Linked DNA regions of Homo sapiens: region 2 is linked to region 1. The links are contacts of gene promoters, found by promoter capture Hi-C in blood cells and fetal thymus (Javierre and others, 2016). All regions are on one chromosome and are shown on one strand. Each heading gives the region's core, a stretch centred on a gene start or on the middle of the fragment in contact. The rest is flanking DNA. Distances are from core to core; before and after follow the strand shown. Region 1 has its middle 5.3 kb from the start of ATP6V0C. Region 2 holds the start of ECI1 (enoyl-CoA delta isomerase 1).

The links. Contacts are between HindIII fragments. The CHiCAGO score rates a contact against its expected background, and 5 or more counts as called.
Region 2: a contact is called between the fragment with the promoter of ECI1 here and a fragment that was not itself captured in region 1, in 2 of 17 cell types (endothelial precursors and erythroblasts). The highest score is 7.9, in endothelial precursors.

Annotation. Positions count from the first base shown.
Region 1 is chr16:2,506,719-2,510,632 of GRCh38, forward strand. No RefSeq gene overlaps it. Among named protein-coding and RNA genes, the nearest start is that of ATP6V0C, 5.3 kb to the right of the region's middle. RefSeq lists enhancers at 471-971, 972-1,472, 3,119-3,228, 3,289-3,358. The HindIII fragment of the contact is 1,938 bases long and covers 615-2,552 here.
Region 2 is chr16:2,249,092-2,252,840 of GRCh38, forward strand. It overlaps ECI1 (enoyl-CoA delta isomerase 1), which reads right to left and starts at 2,496. Exons shown (of 7, transcript NM_001919.4): 1 at 2,424-2,496; 2 at 2,225-2,338. The coding sequence starts at 2,475. It overlaps LOC107984839 (a long non-coding RNA gene), which reads left to right and starts at 2,579. Exons shown (of 2, transcript XR_001752052.2): 1 at 2,579-2,902. RefSeq lists enhancers at 1,828-1,957, 2,888-2,947 and a silencer at 2,168-2,637. The HindIII fragment of the contact is 15,979 bases long and covers 1-3,749 here.

The sequences.
Region 1 (3,914 bases), core at 334-2,833:
AATGTGGTGGTGCGATCTTGGCTCACTGCAACTTCCAACTTCCAGGTTTGAGGTATCCTCCTGCCTCAGCCTCCTGAGTAGCTGGGATTACAGGCACCTGCCACCATGTCCGGCTAATTTTTGTATTTTCAGTAGAGACCGGATTTCACCATGTTGGCCGGGCTGGTCCCTAACTCCTGGCCTCAAGTTATCCGCCTGCCTCGGCCTCCCAAAGTGCTGGGATTATAGGGGTGAGCCACCGTGCCCGGCCACGTCTTTTTAGTACCTTGTGTTTAATTGTGGATCGGTATAATACAAAGAAAAATAGAATGCCTTTTTTCTTTTGAGCCCTGCACAGATGCCCCCTCCCTGTCCAGTTCCTCCAGTGAGACCGAGGCTGCTGGGGGCCCTCCCTGCAGCTGCTGTGGAGCCTCTGCCTGCCGTCACGTGAGCTGCCTCTGCCCACTCTATGCTCCTGGGTTCCTCTTCCCCAGACTGGCCACGGGGGTGGCCCCTTCCTGCCAAGCCCTCTTTCTTTGCTCCTCTGAACACCTTCCTTCAGTACCTTCAGGGGACTGTTGGGGCAGCACCTGTCCCGGGTCTGAGAGGCCTCCTGGTCTGCTAGCCTGGCAGGAAGCTTGGCCCCCAACACAGCCACAGGCTCTCTGGCACCAGGTTTCTTTCAGTTCCTCTGAACTGAAAGCCTCTGTTTCCCGGCCTTTGCGCGTGCTATTTGCCACTCCTCATGCCTGGGCCCTAGTGTCCCTCCCAGGATTTCCCTGAGCTCCCCGCTGAGGCCGGGTCCGCGTTCTAGCTTCACAGCACCTGAGACAGGTGTTGGCTGGTCTCCCCACCCCCTGTCCTAAAGACTGTCAGTCTCAAGGGGCAGGAGTGCCTAGCACTGCAGAATGAACTGAAGCCCCTGTGGGTTGGTGTGCGCTGCTGCTGTGCGTCCAGGGTGATCAGAGATTCTCCAGGTGTGCTCCTGGGGCCTGTGGTGGCGGGACACCCCCTTCCCACACCCGCCACGCTCCCTGCAGTAACTCTTGCACTTACTGTAAGTGCTCGGACTGTCTTGTGCTTGACATTAGGACACACACTCAGGCCAGAATTGGGCAAGATTGTCCCTGAGCGGGGCGTGCAGAGCGCTCTGGCCTGGGAGGTGGGGCGCAGGGCTGCTTCCTCCTGCAGGCCAGCTCACTGTGGGGCTGGTGTCTGCCCAGAGCTTGGCCAGGCAGTGCCGCCCCCTCCCTTCCTGCCGCCTCTACCAGCAGCCTTCCCTCAGGCTGCTTTCCGGGCCTAGTCTGTGGCAGGTGTCCAGGGCACAGTCTTCCCTCTAGCCTGCCATGAAACTGTTTCATTTTTCTTTTAAAAAAATTGAAGTGAAATTGACATACTATCCAACCATTTGAACGACCCCAGACAGAGGTGGTGGTTGCATGAATGAGCATGTTGTGGAACCACCACCTCCAGTTCCATGGCATTTCCCCACTCCTAAAGGAAAACCTGGCCCCAGCAAGCAGCTGCTCCCCATGCCTCTCTATCTTATGACTTTGGGTTTCATTTTCATGTTTTTGTTTTTTTGAGATGGAGTCTTGCTCTGTCACCCAGGCTGGAGTGCAGTGGCATGATCTCTGCTCACTGCAACCTCCCCGTCCCGGGTTCAAGCGATTATCCTGCCTCAGCCTCCCTAGTAGCTGGGATTACAGGCACCCGCCACCACACCCGGCTAATTTTTGCATTTTTAGTACAGACGGGATTTCACCATGTCGGCCAGGCTGGTCTCCAACTCCTGACCATAGGTGATCCGCCCACTTTGGCCTCACAAAGTGCTGGGATTACAGGTGTGAGCCATGTGCCCGACCAGTCTGTGACTTACTTAAATACAGACTGGATCATGTTTCTCCCCTGCTCTATGCCCTCTCTTCATCTTTCAAGTCCTAATTCAGAGATCACCTCTTCTGCGACCCACCGAGCTAGTCCCAGCACCTCCTTCCCTTGTCCCCCCTGCTTCTAGGAACCACACTTCTGGTGCGGCATTGGCTGTACCGTTGGGGACGCTACTGCTCCCTGGTAGGCTGCCAGGTCTTGAGGGTAGGGACTCTAACTTGTCTTTGTCTGGCAGGGGCCTCACTCAGCACCTGGCACAATAGTAGGTGCTCAGGGAACTGAATGAATGGATCAGGGTCTGAGGCGGGCAAGGGCTGCGGCGGTGAGCCCTGACCCCCTGGGTGGAGTGTGAGGAGGCCGTGTTGGCCTTCAGGGTGCACCCTGAAACCAGACATGGGGTCCAGGCTGCCTAGGGCTGAGCGTTTATCTGACACCCGTTCTGAAAAACCTGGTCGTGGTGCAGGTGCAGCCCCCGGCCCTGGTCATTTGGAAGTTTGTGTCCAAAAAAACCCAATGGCTACTATAGCACCTGTGAGCCAATGGGGTCCTCCACCTGCCCACCTGCCTGCAGAAGAAACGCCGAACACTGCTGCCTAGTGGTCAGGGCCGGCTGGACTCCCTGCCCACCCCACTGGGTCCTCAAAGAGGAGGGCCCACTCAGGCCCTTTTCCATCAACCCTGAAAGCTTGGGGTGAGCGAGAAGGGGGAGCTGCCCTGTCCTTGGGGTCATTGCAGTCGTCTGCCTCCAACCTCTTGCCCCCTCAGTGCCTGCTGTCCAGCGGGAGCAGCTCAGGGCTCCACCTCCCCTGCCGCCCTCGACTTTGGGGAGCCTCCTTGCACCAAGCAGCTTGTACGGTGCCGAGTCCTACTTGCACCACGTTGTCTTTACCTCTGGCATTTTATTTTATTTAAACATGGGAGGCAGAGCTTGCGGTGAGCTGAGATTGCGCCACTGCAATCCAGCCTGGGTGACAGAGTGAGACTCCATCTCAAAAACAAAAAACAAAAAACAAAAAACTTCACTGTATCATTGTTTAAGCCTTAACTTTTAATGATAAGAAAATAAAGCACCTTTGGTCATACCCCTGATGGTACACCTGTGTTCTTGGCCCATTTCCTCCGGCCCTGCTGGGGCCACACATGGCTCTCCTGGAAGCAGGTCAAGAGTGCCCAGTGCCATCTCCCAGCATTGTGCCCCTCTGGGTGTGTCCTCAGGGCAACTCAGAAGGATAGCTGTCTCCAGGAGCAGGTGCCTGCAGGGACACTGTCATCTGCAGATGAGGCTGCCCCCCAGCCCTTTGTGATGGCTTCTTCCGGAGAAGTTGATCTCCCCAGTCACTCTTGGGACTTTATTCCTTGTCTCTTTATCCCCATCCTCCCCTACCCTTGCCGGGGTCTCTGCAAAATGCTGCTGGTCCCTCCTGCAGAAGCCCACCCTACATTTCTCTACGGCTTCTGTTGGGGTCTCTGACCTGAGTTTCTCAAAGCCCCTCCCCCAGTTCCTGGAAATCCCCGCTGCTGTAGCAGTGACAGGCCAGGGGCTCGTGACTTGTGGTTTCACGCCAGGGGGGACGTAGCTGTGAGGGAGGAGAGAGATGTGTGTCCCTGGCCATCCCCACCCCAGAGTCCACTCCACCCTGGGGTCCTGCCCGGTGCTGGGAGACCAAGGAGAAGGAGATCTGGGTCCTTCCTAGACCTGTCACTGGTCATCAGTCATCTGTGGAGCCCACCACAGAGGCAGGCCCTGGAGCTCCAGTTTCAGGTTCCCTTGGCAGCTGCTAGCTGGATGCCTGGCAAGGCTCTTAACCTTCTGAGGCCTGTTTCGCTGACCAGAAAATGAGGGTCACGGTGAGAGTGAGGGGTGACGGTGCCCAGACAGGGCCTGGCCCACCCTGGTGCTCAGGAAATCTCTCCTGTGTGTGTCTGGCACCCTACCAGGTCAAGGACACAGAAAAAGAGTCACAGCGACCCTCAGTGGGGGAGGCAGTGAGCGGAAAAAAAAAATCACAGAGGTTGGGCGTGGGCTCACGCCTGTAATCCCAGCA
Region 2 (3,749 bases), core at 1,246-3,745, 260 kb before region 1:
CTGGAGTGCAGTGGCGCGATCTCGGCTTACTGCAAGCTCCACCTCCGGGGTTCACACCATTCTCCTGCCTCAGCCTCCCAAGTAGCTGGGACTACAGGTGCCCGCCACCACGCCCGGCTAATTTTTTTTTGTATTTTTTAGTAGAGATGGGGTTTCACCGTGTTAGCCAGAATGGTCTCAATCTCCTGACCTCGTGATCCGCGCACCCTGGCCTCCCAAAGTGCTGGGATTACAGGTGGGAGCCACCGGGCCCGGACTCAAAAACATGTTATCTTAAGGTATTGGAATGGGTAGTGTGGACTACACATTGTGAATATACTTACGGCCACGGGGTTGTACATTGCAAAATGGCTAGAATGGTAAATGTGAGGCATATTTTAAAGATTTTTATGTACACACACACACACATTACCTCCGGTAAAAAAGGAAAAGTGTTCGTACAATGACAATTTTTTTACTCGAGTGCCTCCCCACTTTACCATATAAAAAGACAACGTAAGCCGGGCGCGGTGGCTCACGCCTGTAATCCCAGCACTTTGGGAGGCCGAGGCGGGTGGATCACGAGGTCAGGAGATCAAGACCATCCTGGCTAACATGGTGAAACCCCGTCTCCACTAAAAATACCAAAAAAAAAAAATTAGCCGGGCGTGGTGGCGGGCGCCTGTAGTCCCAGCTACTTGGGCGGCTGAGGTAGAAGAATGGTGTGAACCCGGGAGGCGGAGCTTGCAGTGAGCGGAGATCGTGCCACTGCACTCCAGCCTGGCGACAGAGCAAGACTCCGTCTCAAAAAAAAAAAAAAAAAAAAAAAAAAAAAGACAAAGTAGAGTTTGGAGTCAGAAAGTCAGGCCTGACTGAGATTGCAGTGAGCCGGAACCGCGCCATTGCACGCCAGCCTGGGTGACAGAGGGAGCCTCTGTCTCAAAAAAAAAAAAATAATAATTTTTTTTTTTGCATTTTGTTGAGATATATTCAAATATGCTACAGAAATGATCCCTTCAGAAACTCAGTTTTTACAAAAATTAGTGGGCATAGTGGTGGGTCCCTGTAATCCCAGCTATTTGGGAGGCTGAGGAGGGAGAATCGCTTGAACCCAGGAGGCACAGGTTGCAGTGATCGGAGATTGCGCCACTGCACTCCAGTCTGGCGACTGGAGAGCAAGACTACATCTCCAAAAAAAAAAAAAAAAAAAAAAAAAGTCAGTTTGAAGTTGGTCTTAGTTTGTCCCTCTCAAGTTTGTAGAGAGAGCCCAGGCAGCTCCCTCAGCCCAGACAGAGAGGACGGAACCAAGTTCAGAGGCACCAGGAGCCTGGAGTCCTGAAGCTGTGCAAAGTTGGGCACAGCCCTGAGTCTGGGGGGTTGGGGAGGGCAGGGGCTGTGACTTACTTGCGGAGGGGGAGGGCCTCCTCTCAGGAGCCACAGCAGGGACTGCTGCACCGGGAGGTCCAGGTCAGCATGTCCTGGAAGCAGAACTGCTGGCGCCTAGGCGTGCCCTCTCGGTGCCCTCAGCTCGGCCTCCTGTCTGGAGGGAGCGCACAGGCTTCTCTTCCAAAAGTACTTTTTCTATCCTTTCCAGTGGGTTTTACCAAGGGTTCTGACGGGCGGGTAGGTACGAGGTTCTGTGCCACATGGGAGTGTTAACAAACGTAATTTTATTCCAAAAGATTCCAATTCTTTTCCACTTCCAATTGAATAACTTAGATAACAGCTCATATCCCCGCCAACTTTATTTTTATTTATTTATTTATTTTGAGACGGAATCTTGCTCTGTGGCCCAAGCTGGAGTGCAGTGGCACAATCTCGGCTCACTGCAGCCTCCACCTCCCAGATTCCAGCGATTCTTCTGCCTCAGCCTCCCAGGCATAGGCACGCACCACCACGCCCAGCTAATTTTTTTCTTTTGTATTTTTCAGTACAGATAGGGTTTCATCATGTTGGCCAGGCTGATCTCGAACTCCTGACCTCAGGTGATCCGCCCGCCTCTGCCTCTTAAAGTGCTAGGATTACAGGCGTGAGCCACCGCGCCCGGCCTCCGCCAACTTTAAAAACAGAAACTTTTATCTCATGACGAACGAACCCAGGTAGAGCGGCAAGGTTCTGTTTCGAAACTTGGGTTCTAAACACAAACCGAGCGTCGACAGACGTGGTTCTCCGACAGCACCCCGCGAGCGCGGACCCCCGCGGGTCCTGACCCCACGCCCGCCCTCCCTCGGCGCCGCCCGCTCACCTGCGCCCGCGTCCGGCTCCACCAGCACCCGCTGGCTCCCGAAGCGCCGCGCGCCGTCTCCGCCGCCGGCCGCCCGCTCCGTCCGCCCGAGGGCCGCGCCCGGGAGCCGGGCCCCTGCGAAGGCAGCGTGGGGGAGCCCGTTAGTTCCCGGTCCTGGCCCCGGCCCCGGCCCGATCCCTGCCCACCCCGGGTTTCGCACCCGCGCGGAGCAGAACGCGCGCCGGGACTCGCACAGAAGCCACCAGCGCCATCTTGACCGCAACGCGCGGGATAAAGGTCGCGGGCTGAGCTCGCCTCCTGGGGAGGGGGCGGAGCCCCCCCAACTAGGTCCCGCCCCGTTCCCAGAGGCTGGTCAACGCCTCCACCTACCGGCCGAAACAGCCGCTCGCCGCCCTCCGGCTTCACCCCGGGCAGCCGCGCGCTTCCGGGGCAGGCACCTGGATCTGGGCCAGGGCTGGCCTACAAGGAGGCGCAGGCCCACTGCTGAAGCAGCCACGACCAGCTCAGCGCCAGGGCAGGCTCTTCTACAGCGCGGGACACTGTAGGCAAGAGGCTGCCGGTGTTCGTGACCGCGAGCTCTCGGCCGGGCCCAGCTACTGCAGTATCGGCGCTGGAAAGGCGATCAAAGCACGGAACCCCTCCCGAGGGGGCCGTCAGGGAGGCCAGGGGCTGCCTGGGGTGAGCCCGGCCTCCTGCCCCTTTGGGAACAGGATCAGAGCTGCAGGTTTAGTCACCGAAATGGGGGTGGGGGCAGCAGAACCCAGCGGTAAGAACAGGCCACCCGCCTTGCTCAGCACAAGGGCAAGTGCACAAAGGCCGGACCGCAGTGGCACCTTTTTATTTGCAGAGAAATGCCGAAAGATAAGAATACAGTCTGTTCCCGCTGGGCCGTAAGCGGCAGCTCGGGAGTGGGCCTTTGTACTGTCTGGTGTGGGGTTTTGGTCAGACCACTGGGAGCACTGGGCAGTAAGGTCCCAGCTGTGTTGGGTGGTCTCAACTTTTGTTCTCATCTTAAGCATTTCCAATTCTTCCTTGTGTCCCAAACCAATTTTTGAGGTGGAAAAATGGCCACTTAACGGAGGAGGAAGCAAGCCTGGCATGGTGACACACACCTGTAACCCCAGTGACTCAGGACCAGCTGGGTAACATAGCAACAACTTGTTGCTACAAAAAATTCTTAAAAATTAGCTCCTGCTGCTGGGCGCGGTGGCTCATGCCTGTAATCCCAGCACTTTGGGGGCCAAGGTGGGCAAATCATGAGGTCAGGAGTTTGAGACCAGCCGGGCCAATATGATGAAACGCCGTCTCTACTAGAAATACAAAAAATTAGCTGGGCATGGTGGCAGGTGCCTGTAATTCCAGCTACTCAGGAGGCTGAGGCAGGAAAATCACTTGAACCCAGGAGGCAGAGGTTGTAGTGAGCCAATATTGCGCCACTGCACTCCAACCCAGGCAACAGAGACTGTCTCAAAAAAAAAATTAAAAAATTAAAAAAAAATTAGCCCCTGCTACTCTGGACACTGAA